Regions from separate parts of the Homo sapiens genome. Here regions 1, 2, 4, 5, 6 and 7 are each linked to region 3. Evidence: promoter capture Hi-C in 16 types of primary human blood cells and fetal thymus (Javierre and others, 2016). All regions are on one chromosome and are shown on one strand. Each heading gives the region's core, a stretch centred on a gene start or on the middle of the fragment in contact. The rest is flanking DNA. Distances are from core to core; before and after follow the strand shown. Region 1 has its middle 19 kb from the start of TFPI. Region 2 overlaps TFPI (tissue factor pathway inhibitor). Region 3 holds the start of ZSWIM2 (zinc finger SWIM-type containing 2). Region 4 has its middle 36 kb from the start of TFPI. Region 5 has its middle 290 kb from the start of TFPI. Region 6 overlaps TFPI (tissue factor pathway inhibitor). Region 7 overlaps CALCRL-AS1 (CALCRL and TFPI antisense RNA 1).

Region 1 (2,700 bases), core at 52-2,551, 720 kb after region 3:
ACTTAATGCTATCCCTCCTCTAGTCCTCCACCCCGCTACAGGCCCCAGTGTGTGATGTTCCTCTCCCTGTGTCCATGTGTTCTCATTATTCAACTCTCTCTTATGAGTGAGAACATGCGGTGTTTGGTTTTCTGTTCCTGTGTTAGTTTGCTGAGAATGATGGTTTCCAGCTTCATCCATGTCCCTGCAAAGGACATGAACACATCCTTTTTTATGGCTGTGTAGTATTCCATGGTGTATATGTGCCACATTTTCTTTATCGGCTGTATCATTGACGGGCATTTGGGTTGGTTCCAAGTCTTTGCTATTGTGAATAGTGCTGCAATAAACATATGTGTGCATGTGTCTTTATAGTAGAATGATTTATAATCCTTCGGGTATATACTCAGTAATGGGGTTGCTGTGTCAAATGGTATTTTTGGTTCTAGATCCTTGAGTAATTGCCACACTGTCATCTGCAGTGGCTGAACTAACTTACACTCCCACCAACAGTGTAAAAGCATTCCTGTTTCTCCACATCCTCTCCAGCATCTGTTGTTTCTGACTGTTTAATGAGTGCGATTCTAACATGAGATGGTATCTCATTGTGGTTTTGATTTGCATTTCTCTAATGACCAGTGATAATGAGCTTTTTTTTTCATATGTTTGTTGGCCACATAAATGTCTTCTTTTTAGAAGTGTCTGTTCATATCCTTCACCCACTTTTTAATAGGGTTGTTTGTTTTTTTCTTGCAAATTTGTTTATGTTCCTTGTAGATTCTGGCAAATTGTCTCTGTTTGCAGATGACATGATTGTATATTTAGAAAAACCCATTGTCTCAGCCCAAAATTTTCTTAAGCTGATAAACAACTTGAGCAAAGTCTCAGGATACAAAATCAATGTGAAAAAATCACAAGCATTCCTATACATTAATAACAGACAAACAGAGAGCCAAATCATGAGTGAACTCCCATTCCCAATTGCTACAAAGAGAATAAAAGACCTAGGAATACAACTCACAAGAGATGTGAAGGACCTCTTCAAGGAGATCTACAAACCACTGTTCAAGGAAATAAGAGAGGACACAAATAAATGGAAAAACATTCCATGCTCATGGATAGGAAGAATTACTTTGGCCATACTGCCCCAAGTAATTTACAGATTCAATGCTATCCCCATCCAGCTACCACTGACTTTCTTTACAGAATTAGAAAAAACAAACTACTTTAAATTTCATATGGAACCAAAAAGAGCCCATAAAGCCAAGAGAATCCTAAGCAAAAAGAATAAAGCTGGAGGCATCACGTTACCTGACTTCAAACTATACTACAAGGCTACAGTAACGAAAACAGCATGGTACTGGTACCAAAAGGTATATATAGACCAATGGAACAGAACAGAGGCCTCAGAAATAACACCACACATCTTCAACCATCTGATCTTTGACAAACCTGACAAAAAAACAGCAATGGGGAAAGGATTCCCTATTTAATAAATGGTGTTGGGAAAACTGGCTAGCCATATGTAGAAAACTGAACTGGACCCTTTCCTTACACCTTATACAAAGATATGTGTAATATTTTTTATAAAATCTGAAAATTGAAAGCAATTAATTTTTTTGAACATTAAATTCAGGGGTACATATGCAGGTTTGCTATACAGGTAAATTATGTGTCATGAGTGTTTAGTGTATAGATTATTTTGTTACCCAGGTAATAAGCACAGTATCTGATAGTTTTTCACTCCCCACCTCCTTCCCAACCTCCACCTTCAAGTAGGCTCCAGTGTCTGTTGTTCCCTTCTTTGTGTCCATATGTACTTGATGTTTAGCTCCCACTTACAAATGAGAAAATGTGGTATTTGGTTTTTGTTCCTGTGTTAGTTTGCTAAGGGTAACGGCCTCCACCTCTATCCATGTCACTGCAAAGGATATGATCTGATTCTTTTTCATGGCTGCCTAGTATTCCATGGTGTATATGTACCAACCACATTTTCTTTATCCAGTCTTCTGTGGATGGGCATTTAGGTTGATCGATGTCTTTGCTATTATGAATAGTGCTGCAGTAAATGAACATGTGCATGTGTATTTGTGAAAGAATGACATAACAATTTAAAAATTAATCATTGTGGACTGAATAAATACATTTTGGTATAATCATTTGATAGAAGACTATTTGGATAAAATACAGTAATACAGTATTTAGATAAAATACAGTATACACATGACCAGGACAAAAAATAAATCAGAGTAAAAGTTAAGAACAATATCATTTACCTAATTTTAGAAATACACATAGCTATATATGCAATAAAAGGACATATAGTTACATTTTGTTGTTTGTTCTAGAAAGGAGGGGAGAGGAATGCAATAGGGAAAGACTATAAAGAATAATGTGGCCTTCAACTATACATGTAATATTTTATATATCTTATATGAAATACTAAATAATACTGTATTTTACACAAAATACTATATAATAAAATATAAATTATTACATATAACATGGAGCAATTACAATGAAAATGCTAGTATTTACTAATTGTGGATGATTGCTACTGGAATTTTGGGATATTTTCCTTTCTACTTTTCCTCGTTTTCAAATATTTAAATTAAAAATAAATTAGAACATATACAACAGAAAAATATTAGACATTTTTACAGTTCATTCTTTCCAAAATGCTTAATTTTAAAAATTATAATAACTACCTAAATGAAAGAA
Region 2 (2,700 bases), core at 86-2,585, 650 kb after region 3:
TGTTAATAATTGGGTATTGACCATGCGTCAAGCACTGTGCTGTCACTACAGATATGACAGTAAATTAGATGACAGCAACCCCTCGTTCATGGAGCATATAGACACTAAGGACTTACATAAACATTCAGAAAGTCCTGGGTGCTGTGCGAGTGAACAGTAGGATACCTAAATTAGCCTGAAGGGGTCAGCGATAACTTTCCTGAGACTTGAAATTGAGACTTGAAGGAAATGTTTACAGAGGTAATAATTATCTGCCAGCGGCCATGAGAAAGCAAAACACATAGAGGGCAATCTAAAAGGAATTTAATCTGATCCAGTCATATAAATAGAATTATGGTTTATATTGAATCATTTGCCTTTGATGTCATGAATTTTATGTCTCATAGTCTAAAGGTTACAATCCTGCCTTCCCCTTCCCTCCCCCCGCCCCATGTCCTGGGATGTTGGATAGAAGCTTACTATAATATTTGCTGCCTGAAAACATATCATGCCCTTGACTGTAAGAATACTCATCCTCTTGGAACTTATTTGCAAATCTAGGGCTTTCAGGTAACTTACCATCTAAGAATCCACATGCTGCTAGACTCTAATTAAAGGATTTTATTTTATTTTATTTTATTTTCTGGCAGGGAAGAACAAACACATGTACCTTTTGCCTTCTCTGTGTCAGAAAATGTGCCAGATGCTTTTCCACTTTTTATATAAAAATCATAGGAAATTAGTTATTTACATTATTCATTTACAGCTTAGGACACTGGTAGTCAGAAAGTTTAACTTATTCAGTCTCACAAAGGTACTAGGTGGCAAACTACACCTGCAAACTCAGGTCTGTCTGATTCTAAATCCTACAAAAGATACTTGCCTTTCACTAAATGTTCACTCTTAATTTTCTCTCTCCTAGCCCAATGGAATTGTTTTAAAAAGCTTATCACTACTCTTTTTATTATCATTTTTGCCTTATCTAGACGTTAATTCTAGATTATCCTCCCTGCTGATTTGACTGTTAAAAAAATCATCTACTATTTGCTTGTGAGAGAAGCAATAAAATTTGATGTATTTTTCTATTAATAAGAGTACCTTATTTCAATTAAATAATATACTTCTATAAAATGATGTTATGATCTTAGCATCATGTGATAAATTGTATCTCCTAAATAGAATTTTTTCAGATGTGAGATAAGGTTATTATAAAAATTAATTTTAAACAAAAACAAAATAAAACTAGATAAAACTGCAACTAGTTGGTGAAGAGGTCTTTAAGTCTAGCTTAAATATCAAAATTCTTTGTTACCACCTAGGTTTGGAAGCTACCTTATAGTAATTTTAAATTCTGGCTTAATTACTGATAACTTAATTCTGGATTATTGATTGACAGTGGCAGCAGCCACAATTTCAGGAACTTCCTGGTTAACCAATATTCATTTTCTCAGTCCAGTTGAGGAAAATTGGACTGGGACAAATACAGGGAACACTTGGATCTATTTGCTTCTCACTTCCCACAAGTGAGATTGCCTGTTTTTTCCCTGTTAAGACTTATTTTATCCTCCACCTTCCTTGTTTCTGTAACCTCCAGAATGTTAGAATTTTAACCCACCACCTTTTGAGAAAAAAGCCGAATGAGGGATTGAAACTCATAATGTTCAAATTCTTATTTTCAAAAAGGTACATTAGGGTTTTTACTAAATAATGCTTCATCTCTAGGAAATTTTTATAACATGACTTCCCCTTGTGGAGCCCTCAGAGAGCCAAGCTTGATTGAATCTCCTTCCTCTTCCCATCAACAGCAGCACTCTCCATGCTTCTGTCACTTTGTGTACTACTTTATACGGAAATAAACTGTCCACCCTTCACACTCCCCTAGGAAACAGTGAGATTCTTGAGCACCTCATCTCAGCCATACCTGTTTCTCTAGCACCTTCCACAGATTCAGGCCCAGAAGATGTATTTATTCAAACTTTATTAAAGTACACTGAACACAGTCATTTTAAAAAGCTATTAAAGCTATCAAATAAGAATGCATTTATGGAAATCTTTTTTACATCTTAAACCACTATACAAAAATAAGCTATCATTTTGTTAATATTCTCTCATTAATACCAATGCTTGAGATTTCTGTCAACAATTTACTAATTTGCCACAAAATGTTACTTTAAGAAAGGTATATATCCACAATAACCATCACCATACAGTCTTCTCCTTGCTCTATTTTTTATTGTTAATATTCTCATTTTTAGACACAGAGTTTTATGGGATTAGATCTAACTTATATTACTAGATCCTTTGGTGTCCTGGTTGACTAGATTTTTATATTAGTCTCAACTGGGAAGTTTTGATTTTGGAAATATGGGGAAGAAAGAGAGAATAGCTGAAACCTCAGATGTCTGAAGTTCCCTTTCCTCCTCACACTTTTCCTAGCCAAAGGGTAGCATCAAATGTCATAGGGAGTTGTTTTTACAACATTTTGCTCCTTGCAATAGCCCGGAGCTACTCCAGTGTTTAATATTGTATGCTGAAAAAAAAGAGAGAAGTGTTTCAGCTAAAGTTACTTGGTTTCGGACTGTTTAAAACACACATGTGCATGTACACACACACACACACACACACACACACACACACACACATACATTAGGTATAATAAATTTCCAAAGAAAAATATCACTTCAATAACAACTAATTTCCCTCCACAATGGAAAACTATGG
Region 3 (2,700 bases), core at 84-2,583:
TGAGAGTTAGAGCAAAACTGAGTTAATAAAAGAGATTTGAAGAGGTAATTTAGTTTAGGTGATTCAAAAAGGTTGAATAGATTCTACTGGAGAATCTTAATTCTTGATACTAGTCTCTAGGCTTCATTATTTATCTTTGTTAGCAAATTAACAAATTAGGATGGTTTTAAAGTGACCTGCCCTTAGGCAGGTGAAAATAAATCTAATTCCCAAAGTCAGAGAAGAAAAAAAGCAAATATCAACCCATAAATTCCTCACAGTAAGGAAATTCTACTTTGGGGTGGAGCTAAGCACCTTTTGTAAGGTAGCTCATTTTGGATTTTTGTTTGGTGCATTTGAGTCGGTGAATTTATTTAATTTTATTCAAGAGGACAAAATTTATTCACCAAGACTAGTTTGGCTAAAACTATTAAATACAGTAAGTATTGAAGCAACAAAGTAAAAAAAGATGCTTTAAATAAGCACAGACTAGTAAATTGCATTCAATTCTTAAACTTCACGGCACTAACGTAAAATTTTGTAAGTCAACTCCTAGGAGGTAGTGCAGTGGCTAATTTTTGAGTGGTTAAGGATGGGATATGCAATTATGAAATATCTGTGGTCTTTCAGTAAACTTGAATTTTTATTCATTAATATCTTTCCAAGGTATTGCCATTTAAACCATCCTTTAATAGGGCCTTCATACAGTTTCAGAGTGAGCAAAGAGTAAAGGGAAACCTATTTATTTATTTAGAAAATATTTACAGTATGCTAGCAGATTGTAGAATTTTCATTTCGTTTGATTTACAGGACTAAGGACCACTAACAACAGATCCAAGAACACATGTAATGCCAACCAGGTATTCATACGCCTCTGACATTTTCAAGCCTAAAGATCAAGAGCCATCATCTTTTACAAGAGTTGCAGTTTGGTCTTAACCTCCAAAAAAGAAACTTCTAATAAATACTATTTCCTTCTGTAATTTCACGTATTTTAGAGTCTGGAACACTCGTGGGAAGGCGCTTTCGGGGGTGAGGCAGCAAGTATCCGCAGAGATTGTGATGGTGGCTACGCACATTGGGTATGCCAGTGGGGGAACCTGGTGGGCGGGGATGATGGCCAACTGGGGGCGGTAGGGGCGGTAGTTACTCGGAAATCCATGTATTCCGGCTCCTCCTCCCTCAGCAGGAAGCCAGTGGGGCCCATCTCTCGTAGGAGGTAGATGCTGCTACTCAGCGCCTGGTCTTGGTGCCAGCTGAGCCTCTCGCTCAAGTGTCTTCGCCTTTCAGAGGCCTTATAGCCTCGGCGAAGCATGCTGGGTGCGGGCGGAGGCGGCCCCTCTGCTCGGCTCACTGAGGCGCCAGCCGGTCTCCAAGACGACGGCGTGCAGGCTGGTTGCCTTGGTGACGGTGGTTGGGCTCGGGGTGTCCCGGTGTGCCCTGCGCCGAAGAAGAGCGGGCGACAAAGGTGCGGGATGGCATGGATTCTGCAACTCTCCCCAGCCTCCACTGCGTTTCGAAGCGACGCCCTTGACTGAGGAGTGTTTTTAATAATCATCTGGCCGACTTGGAAGCTGGAGGCCGAAGGCATAGCTGTCAATTTTCTTGCGTTCCTTCTGCTTCCTCGGGGCAGAGATGGTGAAATCTACTTGTTAGGACAGTTGCAAACCCGATTGCAGTCTGGGCTCTGGATGCTGAAATTATCCTGTGATGATTCATCATCTTTAACAGAAAGCCGAGGTTACAGAGCCCAGAGTGATTTTTGACGTTCCACAATATTCCACGAACATTTTCTGATTGCTCACTATATGCATAGATTGACTGAGTCTCTGGGGGAAAGATGTAGAAGACAGGAGTTCTAAACCCTAGGAAGTGCATCACCGGTAGTGGCGCCGGCTGTAGTCCCAGCTACTTGGGAGGAAACCAGATCCTTAAGTCATTTCTCTCTGCCTCTCTCTCTCTCTCTCTCTCTCTCTCTCTCTCTCTCTGTGTGTGTGTGTGTGTGTGTGTGTGTTGGAGGGGAAATGGTCTTCCAAGTGAGGGAACATTTTTTAATTGCATGTTTGGGTAGGGGTGGGTGTTGGGGATGGTACAGCCAGAATGGTGGATGGTGGTACGTCCTGAATGGTGGCACAGAATCCATTGACTATGGGTACATGAAACTTACAAATCTGTATACTAAGGAATAAGAGTTTCAAGGTATGCAATGTTTGTACCTCCAATAATTTAAATTGTCTCTGAGGTTTGTTTACCACATTTTAGGGGGAAAACTGTAATAAAGTATGGGTCAACATTTTGAGTCATAATTACTGAAAAAAGAAGCCACATTACTAGAATCTCTATAGGAAATTAAAAGCAGGAGATAGCACTACTTGGAGGTCCAGTAACCTTTGCCTTGGTGGCCAAAGATAGAGCATATTTGTCCTATTTTATCATGGGCAGAAATCATAACTAGATTATGTCAACAGCAGGAGAGTTCTCAGAAAATGGCAAGGGCAAAAGATGAAAGAAGATGATGGTAATGGCAGCTTTCACAGGTGAGACACCTGGATAAACATCATCCAACCCTTAAAGTCTTAGGTCTAAGGTCTAAGGTTTTAATTTACTAAATTTTATTTTTATTCTCCTATTCTGACTAATAACAACTCACATTCATACTACCATACTCCCAACTTTAGAATCAATTTAATGGTACTAGATGTTAAAGAAATACATTATAAC
Region 4 (2,700 bases), core at 9-2,508, 740 kb after region 3:
AAGACTATTGTAGTAGGGATCAAGCCTATTACAATACGGAGAGAGACTGAATTCAACTCCACTGAAAACAAAAGTCAGGAGAGTCTTAAGCACTGGGGCTAGCTAAGGAAACAGTGGTGGATAATGTTAGGGCGGAGGTTGGTCAATGTGATTAGCCATCTGTGTTTGCTAATTGGTATTTATCAAAGTTAGGCTCCTACCTAAGTAATCATCAAGAAAGATACTACCCCATCTCTCATAGAGACTGGGAGATGGGCTAATTTTTTGTTGATGATTACATTTCAATGGTTTAGCTCTCAGGTCCTTGGGAAAGACTTCTCAGGACTGCAAAACTGTCAAGAGGCTGGGAACCGATGGATATTTCAAAGGGGCAAATAAGTAATTTACAATTGCAAGTTTTCTAAAGTTAATGCTCTAAGAACAAGAAGATTAGGGGCTCACAGTTAGTAAGAAAACTGTATAATGCTTTGTCAAAATGAGGGGAACATGAGTGTTTTAAGTCTATCTTGGTCAAGTGCCATCAGGAACATCTACATGTGTCCTCTGAAAATGACTGCTTGGCTTCCTCGCAGTAAGGGTGGCTGGGGGTCAAAAGCAAACATTCCCTTTCAAGAAGGAGTTTCTATGACTTAACCTCAAAAGTCATATTGAGCATCTCTTCTGCTGCATTGTGTTTATTGAGACAGTTAACAAAAGTCTATCCGAGGAAAAGTAGAGAGGAAGAAGTTTACACTTCTTGATAGGAGAGTGACAAAATTCTGGAAAAGCATATTATTACATCTGTTTTTGGAAAATACAATCTGCCACCCTGGCACACATATTATTAAATATCAACAATAAGTGTAGAAATTGTTTGCAACTACACCAACATTTTTTTTAGGAGTATTATCACTGACATAGTTTAGAATTGCTGATGCCTAATAAAGAAATGCCAACTAAGTTGATTTTTGTATTAGTACCTTTTCATACCGCTATGAAGAAATACCCTAGGCTGGGTAATTTATACAGAAAAAGAGGTTTAATGGACTCACAATTCCACATGGCTGGGGAGACCTTACAGTCATGATGAAAGGCAAAGGAGGAGCAAAGGCATGCCTTACATGTTGGCAGGCAAGAGAGTGAGTGCAGGGGAACTGCCCTTTATAAAGCCATCAGATTTCCTGAGAGTTATTCACTATCAGGAGAACAGCATGGGAAAAACCCACCCCCATGATTCAATTACCTCACACTGGGTCCCTCCCTTGATACATGGGGATTATGGGAGCTACAACTCAAGATGAGATTTGGGTGGGGACACAGCTAAACCATATCAGTCTGCCCCAGCCCCTCCCAAATCTTATGTCCTCACATGTCAAAACCAATGATGCCTTCCCAACAGTCCCCAAAAGTCTTAACTCATTTCAGTATTAACCCAAAAGCCCAGGTCCAAAGTCTCATTTGAGACAAGGCAAGTCCTTTCTGGCTATGAGCCTGTAAAATCAAAGCAAGTTAGTTACTTCCTAAATATAATGGGGGTACAGGCATTGGGTAAATACACCCATTCTAAAGGGGAGAAATTGGCCAAAACAAAGGGGCTACAGGCCCCATGCAAATCCAAAACCCAGCAGGGTAGTCATTAAACCTTAAAGTTTCCAAATGATCTCCTTTGACTCCATGTCTCACATCCAGATCACACTGATAAAAGAGACGGATTCCCACGGCTTTGAGCAGCCTCACCCTTGTGGCTTTTCAGGATACAGCCCTCCTCCCAGTTGCTTTCACAGGCTTGCTTTGAGTGTCTGTGGCTTTTGCAAGCTCACAGGGCAAGCTATTGGTGGATCTACTGTTCTGGAGTCTGGAGGACAGGGGCCCTCTTCTCACAGCTCCATTAGGCAGTGCCTCAGTGGAGACTCTCTGTTACTGGGAGTAAGTGTAACACAGAGACTCTGCGTGGGTGACTCCAACCCTACATTTGCCTTTTGCACTACCCTAGCAGAGGTTTTCCATGAGGGCTCCACGCATGCAGCAAACTTCAGCCTGAACATCCATGCATTTCCCTACATCTATTGAAATGTAGCTGGAGGTTCCCAAACCTTAATTATTGTCTTCTGTGCACCTGCAGGGCCAACACCACATGGAAAATGCCAAGACTTGGGGATTTCACCATCTGAAACATGGCCTGAGCTATATGTTGGCCTCTTTTAGCCACAGTTGGGATGCAAGGCACCAAGTCCTGAGACTGCTCAAAGCAGCAAGGCCCTGGGCCTCACCTATGAAACCATTTTTACCTCCTAAGCCTTGGTGCCTATTATAGGAGGGGCTGCTGTGAAGACCTCTGACTTGCCCTGGAGACATTTCCTCTTTGCCTTGATGATTAACATTTGGCTCCTCGTTACTTGTGCAAATTTCTGCAGCAGGTTTGAATTTTTTCCCCTGAAGATGGGTTTTTCTTTTATATTGTATCATCTGGTTGCAAATTTTCAAAACTTATGCTCTGCTTCTCTTTTAAACATACGTTTTAATTTCAGATTATCTCTCTCAAGTTCAAAGTTCCCCAGATCTCTAAGGCAGGGACAAAATGCTGCCACTCTCTTTGCTAAAGCATAGCAAGAGTGACTTTTGCTCCAGTTCCCAATAACTTCCTCATCTCCATCTGAGACCACCTCAGCTGGACTTCAGACACTATCCTTTTCAAAATGGCTGTGGGCAAGTGGGAATCTG
Region 5 (2,700 bases), core at 56-2,555, 990 kb after region 3:
ATAGGCGTGAGCCACCGCAGCTGGCCTACACAGTCTTTTTCAAAAAACAGAGAAGGTAGCAAAACTCCCAATTTATTATACAAGGCTAGCATTACCCAATACCAACACCAAAGGCAGCATACAGACACATGCTCATGTGTACACACACACACACACACACACACAGAAGAAAGTAAAATAAAAAAGAGCCCAGGATTTCTCTTGAAAATATAAATAAAATAAAAATCCTAAACAAAATACTGCAATTCAAATCCAGTATAAATATAGCATGATTGAGTAAGATTAATTCTAGGAATGCAAGGCTGATTTTACCATTCAAAAATTCATCAACATAATCTGTCCTATTAACAAAATAAAGCAAACTTTGTTGGAAGTTCCTTGGCCAGATAAACTATTCTAACTTATTAAAATTGAAACAAAGATCTGAAATGATTGAGAAAATAATTAATTTGATTTATAGACTGGACAGATTTGGCAATCGTAATCTTTATGCTTTTGTTAACAGCTCAAGCAAGTGTGGGAAAAAGGGGACATAATTTTAATGTACTCACTGAGCACAGCAGAAAACATATTAAAAAGCTTATTTTGTCCTTTTTCTTAATCCACCGCTTGTACATTGTATGGAAGAATTAGAGTATTATGCATAATTTAGATACACTTGTCTGCAGAATTATGGTAGATTTTTACCTGGAATACATTTGCATAATAACAAAATAGATCAATAGTTTTAGCTAATTAATGAATAAATATTAAAATCTATTCTGCATTTCACAAGAAATGCTTACATTGACAACTATAATAATGTTTTGGCTGACTTTAACATGGTCTAGTGAATCCTAGCAAAATATCTTCCCAACTCTAAATAGAAAGCACATTCCATACGTGTATGTTAGATATATAATTGTATGTAGAAATGTGGATTTTTTTACATTTAGGATATTAATCAGTATTATAAACATTATTTGTAAATGTAATTATTCTAAATTATCCTTATCATTAATTAATAAGCACTTCAAAATATTTCTAAGATATTTAGTAATTTTTCCTTGTGTGATAAACTTCCTTTAGAGAAATATAGCTATAAGAGGAAACAAAATGTGAGCAACAAAGACATTAAAACATGAAAGTTTCCATATAAGAAACTTAAATAATTGAACAAGCAAAAAACAAATAGCCCCATTGAAAAATGGGCAAAAGACATGAACTAACACTTCTCAAAAGAAGACAGAGAAGCAGCCATAGAAAAAAATGCTCCATATCACTAATCATCAGAGAAATGAAATCAAAATTCCAGTGAGATATCATTTCACATGAGTCAGAATGCCAATTATTAAAAAATCTAAAAGCAACAGAGGCTGGTGAGTCTGTGGCAAAAGGGGAATGCTTATACACTGTTGATAGGAGTGTAAATTAGTTCGGCCACTGTGGAAAGCAGTTTGGAGATTTCTCAAAGAACTTAGAAATATCACTTGACCCAGCAATCCCATTACTGGATATACATCCAAAAGAAAATAAATTGTTCTACCAAAAAGATACATGCACTTACATATTCGTTGCAGCACTATTCACAATAGCAAAGACAGAATCAGCCTAGGTGCCCATCAACAGTGGATTGGATAAAGGAAGTGTGGTTCATATACATCATGGAATTCTATGCAGCCATAAAAAAGAATGATATCATGTCCTATACAACATGGAATACTATGCAGCCATAAAAAATGAAATCATGTCCTTTGCAGAAACATGGATGCAGCTGGAGGCCATTATTCTAAGTGAATTAACACAAGAACAGAAGACCAAATCCCGCATGTTCTCACTTATAAGTGGGAGTTAAATGAACGGTACTCGTGGACATGAAGATGTCAACAATAGACACTGGGGACTACTACTAATGAGCTCCATGTGAGACAGGAAAAGGTAGAGGCATGTTATCAGTCACACAACATTTCAAGGACACATTGGACAGGAGTTTGAATGGCCTGAATAACTGACGTACAGTGTGCAAAGGGAAGCCAGGAGGAATTCTGAAAGCAAAGCTTAAAGACACATATGTTTATAAGTGGTTTAGTTGTTGATTTACATGAAGGCAAATGTAGACATTTAGTACTGCCATCTAGAATCTCTTCAATTTTATTTTATAAGTTCGTGAAGAATGAGAGCATGATGAGAACTGATAGAAAAAGTCATGCCTTGGTCCATGATTTTGTATCAATCAAGGCAAGATAGGAGAAAAGCCTTCTGAGTCTTATGATTCGTTTATATCCAAATGGCTTTGTATGCTGGTTTAATATAAGTGAAGGTGAATTGGAGCAAAAAAGAAAAAATATATATCAATATGCGAAGTGTCTCAGGAAGTCCATGTGGAGGATTGAGCCACAAGAAAGTTGTCATGGAGTCTGGAATGGAGGGGAATTTAATTTTCCATCAGGCACCCAGAGAGGGAAATGAACGTGAATTACTGTAAGATTAGACGGTCCCTGATCTGAAGGAATTCATGTACTTCTAAGTGGGCAACTTTTACTAAGAATTTTTTTCTAAGCTGACAAGAAACACGGTAAAATTCAGGTTCTCATTTTTAAAAAACTGGCTTATGCAGACATTCTGGAGAAAGCTAGCGTTATCTTCTTACACAAGGGATGTGCTGCCCCCTTCTGGATAAAGGAAAAGGTAAATTCCACTGAGAAATTTACATTCCTCCAC
Region 6 (2,700 bases), core at 173-2,672, 630 kb after region 3:
AAAAGTCATATTATGATAATGTTTAACTAAACTTCTAAAATGCTTCCATAATATCATGAAGAAAAACATTAAAATTATATTTATAAATATTTCACTTAATAATAATTGAATTTTAGAATATTCAAATACTCTACTTAAAGATTGTTATTTAGTGGAAAGAATTTAAAGACTGGTATTCCATTTATGTTGTGGGGCAGATTATTATTCCTGTACATTGAATTGAAACTTTAAAGGATTTACAGCTTTTCAAAATAACCTGATACCACAGAGAACTTTACACGTTTGATAAAACCCTTGAAAAACAAAGTTTTATGTAAACAAAGAATTGCATTTTCTTAAACTACAATAGAATGTATTAATATAATTGTAAGCAGTGACAGATGTAATTATATTTGATTGGGGAAATTAAGAGGTGTCTGTAGATCTCAGCAAACCCCTCAGACAGAAGTGACAAGGGGTCATCTAGGTTTTAGAACAGAGTACAGGGACATCTGCATTCCCACTTCCGCATCTTGGCTGGGGCAGATTCGAAATCACGTAGGTTTTAAGAAGAATGGCAACATAGCTTCATTGACAATCCACCTTATGCCATCCTTAATATCAAATGTCTCCTAGTTACTGCAACATTGTTTCATGTTTTAGATTAGGAAGGAAGAAAGGGAGGGAAGGGAGGGGAGGGGCGGGGAAGGGAAGGGAAGGAAATGCTCTTAGAAAAAGGAAAAGGGGTCAAATTGGCCGGAGGAATGTTGATTTTGAGGCCAATATATACAATCAAAAATAAAACAGTTTTTTAGACAAATAAAGGAGACATTTGCCCTAATTTTAAATGCAGTTACGATAACATTATTCCTTAAATGTCTATTATTCTGAATAAATTATTGTTAATATTGTTTTCTTTTAAATTCATGTTGTCAATTCTTACTGCTTAGTTAATAATTTACTTTTACAAGCATTTATTTATTTGTTACAATTTTCAATGTGCATCTACACAATAAACTAAAGAAGACATATCAGAGGCCATTTAAAACTCATTAATATTACTTTCTCACACTAATTTTTATTTTGCCCTTTCTAACTTGGTAGTATGCTTACCAAAAATTTTAAATTTTATACTTCAAAAAAACTTAAGGCAAAATTATTCCCTAACCTACTCTACTCACTTTAATGATAAATGACTGCAGATCTCCACTTGAATTGGTAAAATAATTCAAACAAAAGTATTCAAGCATGTTGCAAACTGATTTCATACATTTCTTGTACTTACTGATATACTGTGTCACATGTATATTTAAACCTGTTAATTTAGTCATTCTAAATTTTCTTTTACAGCAGTAAGATTTAACGTGCTTTTGAAAATATAATAACTGAATAAAACAAAATACGAGTGAAAAATACAAAGCTGGAAAGACATAAAGAAATAATGCAACGATAGTACTTAATTTTTCAGATAAGTCAGAATCACAAAAGTATTAATTTTTACGAACGAAGTAGTATTTAAAAATTAGACTCAAGTTCATCTGGCATTCAATTCACTGCTCTACCTATTGAATGTAAGGACCTGAAGTCATTTTGAATATATCGTATTTTCCAACTCCCACTGAAAGTTTGCATCCCCTTAATGACCTCTTAAGTGTTAATTGCACACTTATTGAATGCCTACAATTTAGGGAATTTATTAATACCTGAGACAGCCATCAATTTTTTAAGATCTCACATAAGAAAGAAACATATTATAGAAAGGCATTTATACTTTAGTTCTCACACATTAATCCTCATGCTTAGGCTGGGTTGAGGGGGATAAGGGAGGATGGGGATGGGGGTCTGGGGAGGGTGTGAAATAGGCAGGACTAAAGGGTAAGTCATGTAGAGAACTTAATTCTCCTTTCACATAATAGTGTTTCAGTTATTAAAAGCACATATTATGCTCCCTCGTAGATCTCATGTCTCTTTACACTTTTCATTTCCTCTTTAATCATGTTTCAAATCCTCCTTGTGATTTCCAAGGTGTGACATTCAGTGCTGAAGCAAGACCCACAAATGATTAGATCACTGTGGGACTCAGCTGAACATTCACAGACTCTTTCTAGAAAAGTCGGAGTCAACATTTTAATGCTTCAAATCCACGTGGGCAGGGATTTTGTTTGCGTTCTGTTGGCTTGCTTGCTTAGTTGTTCGTTTGTTTGTTTGTTGTAAAGAGGAGTAGCTCAAAGCCAATCTGATTCTGATAAATGGCCAAGGTAGAGAATTCCTGGCCCAAACACTGTTTCTTTTTTTTTTATTATTATTTTAATCCTAAGATTGCAATTTTAATAGTTACAGAATTCTTCACACTCAGGCTAAGTTTATATATAAACATGCCAAGTTTACCTTTGACATGTTCACATGGACTACTTCTAAACAAAATCTTCAATATCTGAATAAGAATATGTGATTTTTATAATTTAGCTAGGATCTAACAATTTTACACTGGTAATTTTTAGCTGTTTATGTTATTTCTAACTGCCCAGATATTTGTGGTTCCTGATTATGTTTTCCAGTATTTTCACTATTTTCTCAGCTCTGCATTTTGTGGAAATATTTCCTGTATATTCGTTTAAATCTGATAAATAGGTTAACAGACAAGAACATAAAAAAGAGTCCTGCAGAATTCAAAAGAAAATTCCCTCCAGAGTGACATAACATTTAGGCATGGTTATTCAA
Region 7 (2,700 bases), core at 186-2,685, 610 kb after region 3:
GTGTGTGTGTGTGTGTGTGTGTGTGTGTGTAGCTTGTGAAGAAAGAAAATAGTTAATAAAGAATATGTAAAGAGATAAATAAAGTTTCCTAACATATACAGTCATTAGCTTTAGAATTTTAAATACTTTCTCATTGAACAGTGGCAGAAACTTTCAATAAAAAATGGTAATTGTTTATTTCGTCGTCTCTGGAGTAACAATTTCTTGGCAAGATGGATCATTTAGGTAGCTCACAGCTGTTCACATCTTGAAACTCTGGAAATTTCCCTAGAGTGACTTACAAATTTTGTGGAACATTCTGTTGAGAGTGGGGAATATGTTTTAAAAAAAAATACTGTTGGAAAGTCAAAGTTCTTGCTTTCTGATTCCAAAAACTGACTAACAAGAAGGAAGTAGCAGTTTCCTCTGGCTTCTAATTTAAGAACACCTGCAGCTTAGAAAAAGAGTTCAGTAAATTAGAATTATGCCCCTTGTGCAAATACAGATTAAATATGGATTAAGTCCCTAAAGAAATTCAAGTTCATAATTGAGTTGGCTGATTTTATCTTGTAATGAAAAAGAATAGCAAATCATCAACAATGTTGACAGGAATGAGTTGATTTTGGCTACAATTAGGATTTGTCTAAAACTTAGAATAAATTGTTGATTGAGATAAAACATTTTGGTACTAGAAAAATCTAATTCTAGTTAATTATTCTTAATTAAATTTGGCTTGCTTTTTTAGAATACTTAAGAGACAAAAACGGTCTAAAAATTATTTCAAAACTTCTCATGAGGTTGAAACGCCTTGATGAGTAGTATAAATCAGATCCACATATATTATTTTCCCTACGATATATATAATATTGAGAAAGAAAAAGTTAATGGATTCAGAAATGTTTTTTGATTATAAAACCCATTATTAAGGCATTCAGAAAATCCCACAGTATGTGGGACCTCCTGTAAGGTAATTACTTGGAAGCTTCTCATAAAATCTTTTGATGTTTGGGAATTAATCAGGCACTGGAAAAGGAAATTGTAGGTATAGTCAGTTTGAAGATGTCAAGCTCCATCAGCATAGGCTATTTTTGAAGAATATAGAAGACTACTGTACATAACAACCTTATGCTGGGGGGGGTATGGATATTGCTAACAGTAGAATCCGGCCAATGTTGATTTTTATTTTTTAATCACAGAACATCTCTCCATTTTTTTTTGGCTTAACATATGTTGGTATTAGATACTTTTAAATAGAGAGTATTGCCATAAAATCTTAAAATTACCCAAACCAAAAAACTTGTTTATATAACCAGTCTAGTCCAAAACACTCATTCTAAATATAAGTAAATATGGGGCCAGAGAAATTAGATGGTCAAAAAAATTCATCCACTAGGTTAGTACTGGTACTAGAAACAGTATCTCTTAGTTTATATTCTAAAACTTTTTCCCAAAGCCTCTTTCCCATCTTTCAGCAAAGCACTACACACACATAATTGAAAGATAAGTTAGTACAAACAGACTTCTAGCAAGTAAATAGCCATTCTCCATCCCTCAGACTTCTACATTCAACTGTCTTGTGGCTTCCTTCCATTACTGTCATGGAAATATACAATTCCTTTTTATTTCTATTTCTTTGTATGTGACTTATCCCTCCACAGTCTCCTGTTCTTAGGACTTTTCTCTTCGTTACTAGAATTTGAAATTTCATGTGTGTGCAGAGGGGGTATGTCAGGCGGTTACCCTTTGTTGGGTACAACACACCATTTCAGTGAAGGGAATCTCTGTTATTCTTTTTCTGTAAGATGTCTCTCCCCTCTATTTATCTCTGCTATTTTCCAGATCCTTTTGACACTTCAAGGTAGGGCACCTGAACTAATTGCGAAATTTTATCTTTTCTATCTTCTTTTCCATCCTAATGACCTCTTCTTTCCAAAGCTTAGAGATTTTTTTTTTTAACTTTATCTTCTATTTCTTGATTTTAAAAAACCATTTATTTCATTTTAATTACCAAGAGTTTCTTTCTTATAACCTAGTGTTATCATTGGCTGATTTCTCTGTGAATACTAATTATAGAAGTTACAACAAACAGGAAAATATTTAGCTCCATTTATGTACTTCAATAACATATTTGAATTTTCAATATAAGATTTTTTTATCTAAAAGTTTTTAAAATCATCTTTTGTGGGATTTACTGTTGGGCAAATTAGGGTTTCTGTTCTATTGTGGCTAGTACATTTTTCCTAGTGTACAGAAATGCTATTGATTTTGATACAGGAGTGCTGGGAAGGGACGAGCATGGTCCCTTTAAATGATACCGAACGGGGGACAGGGAAGTGCTGGGTAGAGCAAGGCCGGTTCCTGGCTAGGGCTTCACCCTCTGGCTTGTGCCCACGAACCTAGGTGAGGACAGGCACTCCTGCCTTTGGGCCCAAATGTTGCATTTTCCAAAACCACCCTGGCCCACCACACCCCCATCCTGGGCGGATAAAAACTGAGACCCTAGCAGGCAGATAGATACACAAGCGTCTGGACGTCCAGAGGAGGGGATCAGCGGAAGAAGACACAAGCAGCCGGACATCGAGAGGATGTCGAGGGGAGCATGCCAGTGGAAGAGCACATGACAGACACTGGCAGGACAGCAGGCCATTGACTGGAGGAACGATGTGGAGTTTAGCGAGATCAGGAGGAGGAGAGCACGGGCCGCTAAGCAGAGGGACCCCT

Evidence for each region. The method cuts DNA at HindIII sites, captures the fragments that hold promoters and counts their contacts. A CHiCAGO score of 5 or more calls a contact.
Region 1: a fragment that was not itself captured here is called in contact with the fragment with the promoter of ZSWIM2 in region 3 in 1 of 17 cell types (M1 macrophages); the score reaches 5.2 in M1 macrophages.
Region 2: a contact is called between a fragment that was not itself captured here and the fragment with the promoter of ZSWIM2 in region 3, in 4 of 17 cell types (M0 macrophages, M2 macrophages, M1 macrophages and 1 more). The highest score is 6.7, in M0 macrophages.
Region 4: a contact is called between a fragment that was not itself captured here and the fragment with the promoter of ZSWIM2 in region 3, in 1 of 17 cell types (M2 macrophages). The highest score is 5.7, in M2 macrophages.
Region 5: a contact is called between a fragment that was not itself captured here and the fragment with the promoter of ZSWIM2 in region 3, in 1 of 17 cell types (M2 macrophages). The highest score is 5.9, in M2 macrophages.
Region 6: a contact is called between a fragment that was not itself captured here and the fragment with the promoter of ZSWIM2 in region 3, in 6 of 17 cell types (M2 macrophages, M1 macrophages, M0 macrophages and 3 more). The highest score is 9.3, in M2 macrophages.
Region 7: a fragment that was not itself captured here is called in contact with the fragment with the promoter of ZSWIM2 in region 3 in 8 of 17 cell types (M2 macrophages, M0 macrophages, M1 macrophages and 5 more); the score reaches 23.4 in M2 macrophages.

What each region holds. Positions count from the first base shown.
Region 1 is chr2:187,571,993-187,574,692 of GRCh38, forward strand. No RefSeq gene overlaps it. Among named protein-coding and RNA genes, the nearest start is that of TFPI, 19 kb to the left of the region's middle. The HindIII fragment of the contact is 3,635 bases long and covers 1-2,700 here.
Region 2 is chr2:187,500,881-187,503,580 of GRCh38, forward strand. The region is part of intron 2 of TFPI (tissue factor pathway inhibitor); the gene reads right to left. The region is part of intron 3 of CALCRL-AS1 (CALCRL and TFPI antisense RNA 1); the gene reads left to right. Among named protein-coding and RNA genes, the nearest start is that of TFPI, 52 kb to the right of the region's middle. The HindIII fragment of the contact is 826 bases long and covers 923-1,748 here.
Region 3 is chr2:186,847,837-186,850,536 of GRCh38, forward strand. ZSWIM2 (zinc finger SWIM-type containing 2) reads right to left here and starts at 1,334. Exons shown (of 9, transcript NM_182521.3): 1 at 1,130-1,334. The coding sequence starts at 1,294. The HindIII fragment of the contact is 8,021 bases long and covers 1-2,700 here.
Region 4 is chr2:187,589,451-187,592,150 of GRCh38, forward strand. No RefSeq gene overlaps it. Among named protein-coding and RNA genes, the nearest start is that of TFPI, 36 kb to the left of the region's middle. The HindIII fragment of the contact is 3,117 bases long and covers 1-2,700 here.
Region 5 is chr2:187,840,783-187,843,482 of GRCh38, forward strand. No RefSeq gene overlaps it. Among named protein-coding and RNA genes, the nearest start is that of TFPI, 290 kb to the left of the region's middle. The HindIII fragment of the contact is 1,457 bases long and covers 578-2,034 here.
Region 6 is chr2:187,480,987-187,483,686 of GRCh38, forward strand. All of the region lies in intron 6 of TFPI (tissue factor pathway inhibitor), which reads right to left. All of the region lies in intron 2 of CALCRL-AS1 (CALCRL and TFPI antisense RNA 1), which reads left to right. Among named protein-coding and RNA genes, the nearest start is that of CALCRL, 34 kb to the left of the region's middle. The HindIII fragment of the contact is 2,988 bases long and covers 1-2,700 here.
Region 7 is chr2:187,459,167-187,461,866 of GRCh38, forward strand. All of the region lies in intron 2 of CALCRL-AS1 (CALCRL and TFPI antisense RNA 1), which reads left to right. Among named protein-coding and RNA genes, the nearest start is that of CALCRL, 12 kb to the left of the region's middle. RefSeq lists a silencer at 1,462-1,662. The HindIII fragment of the contact is 953 bases long and covers 960-1,912 here.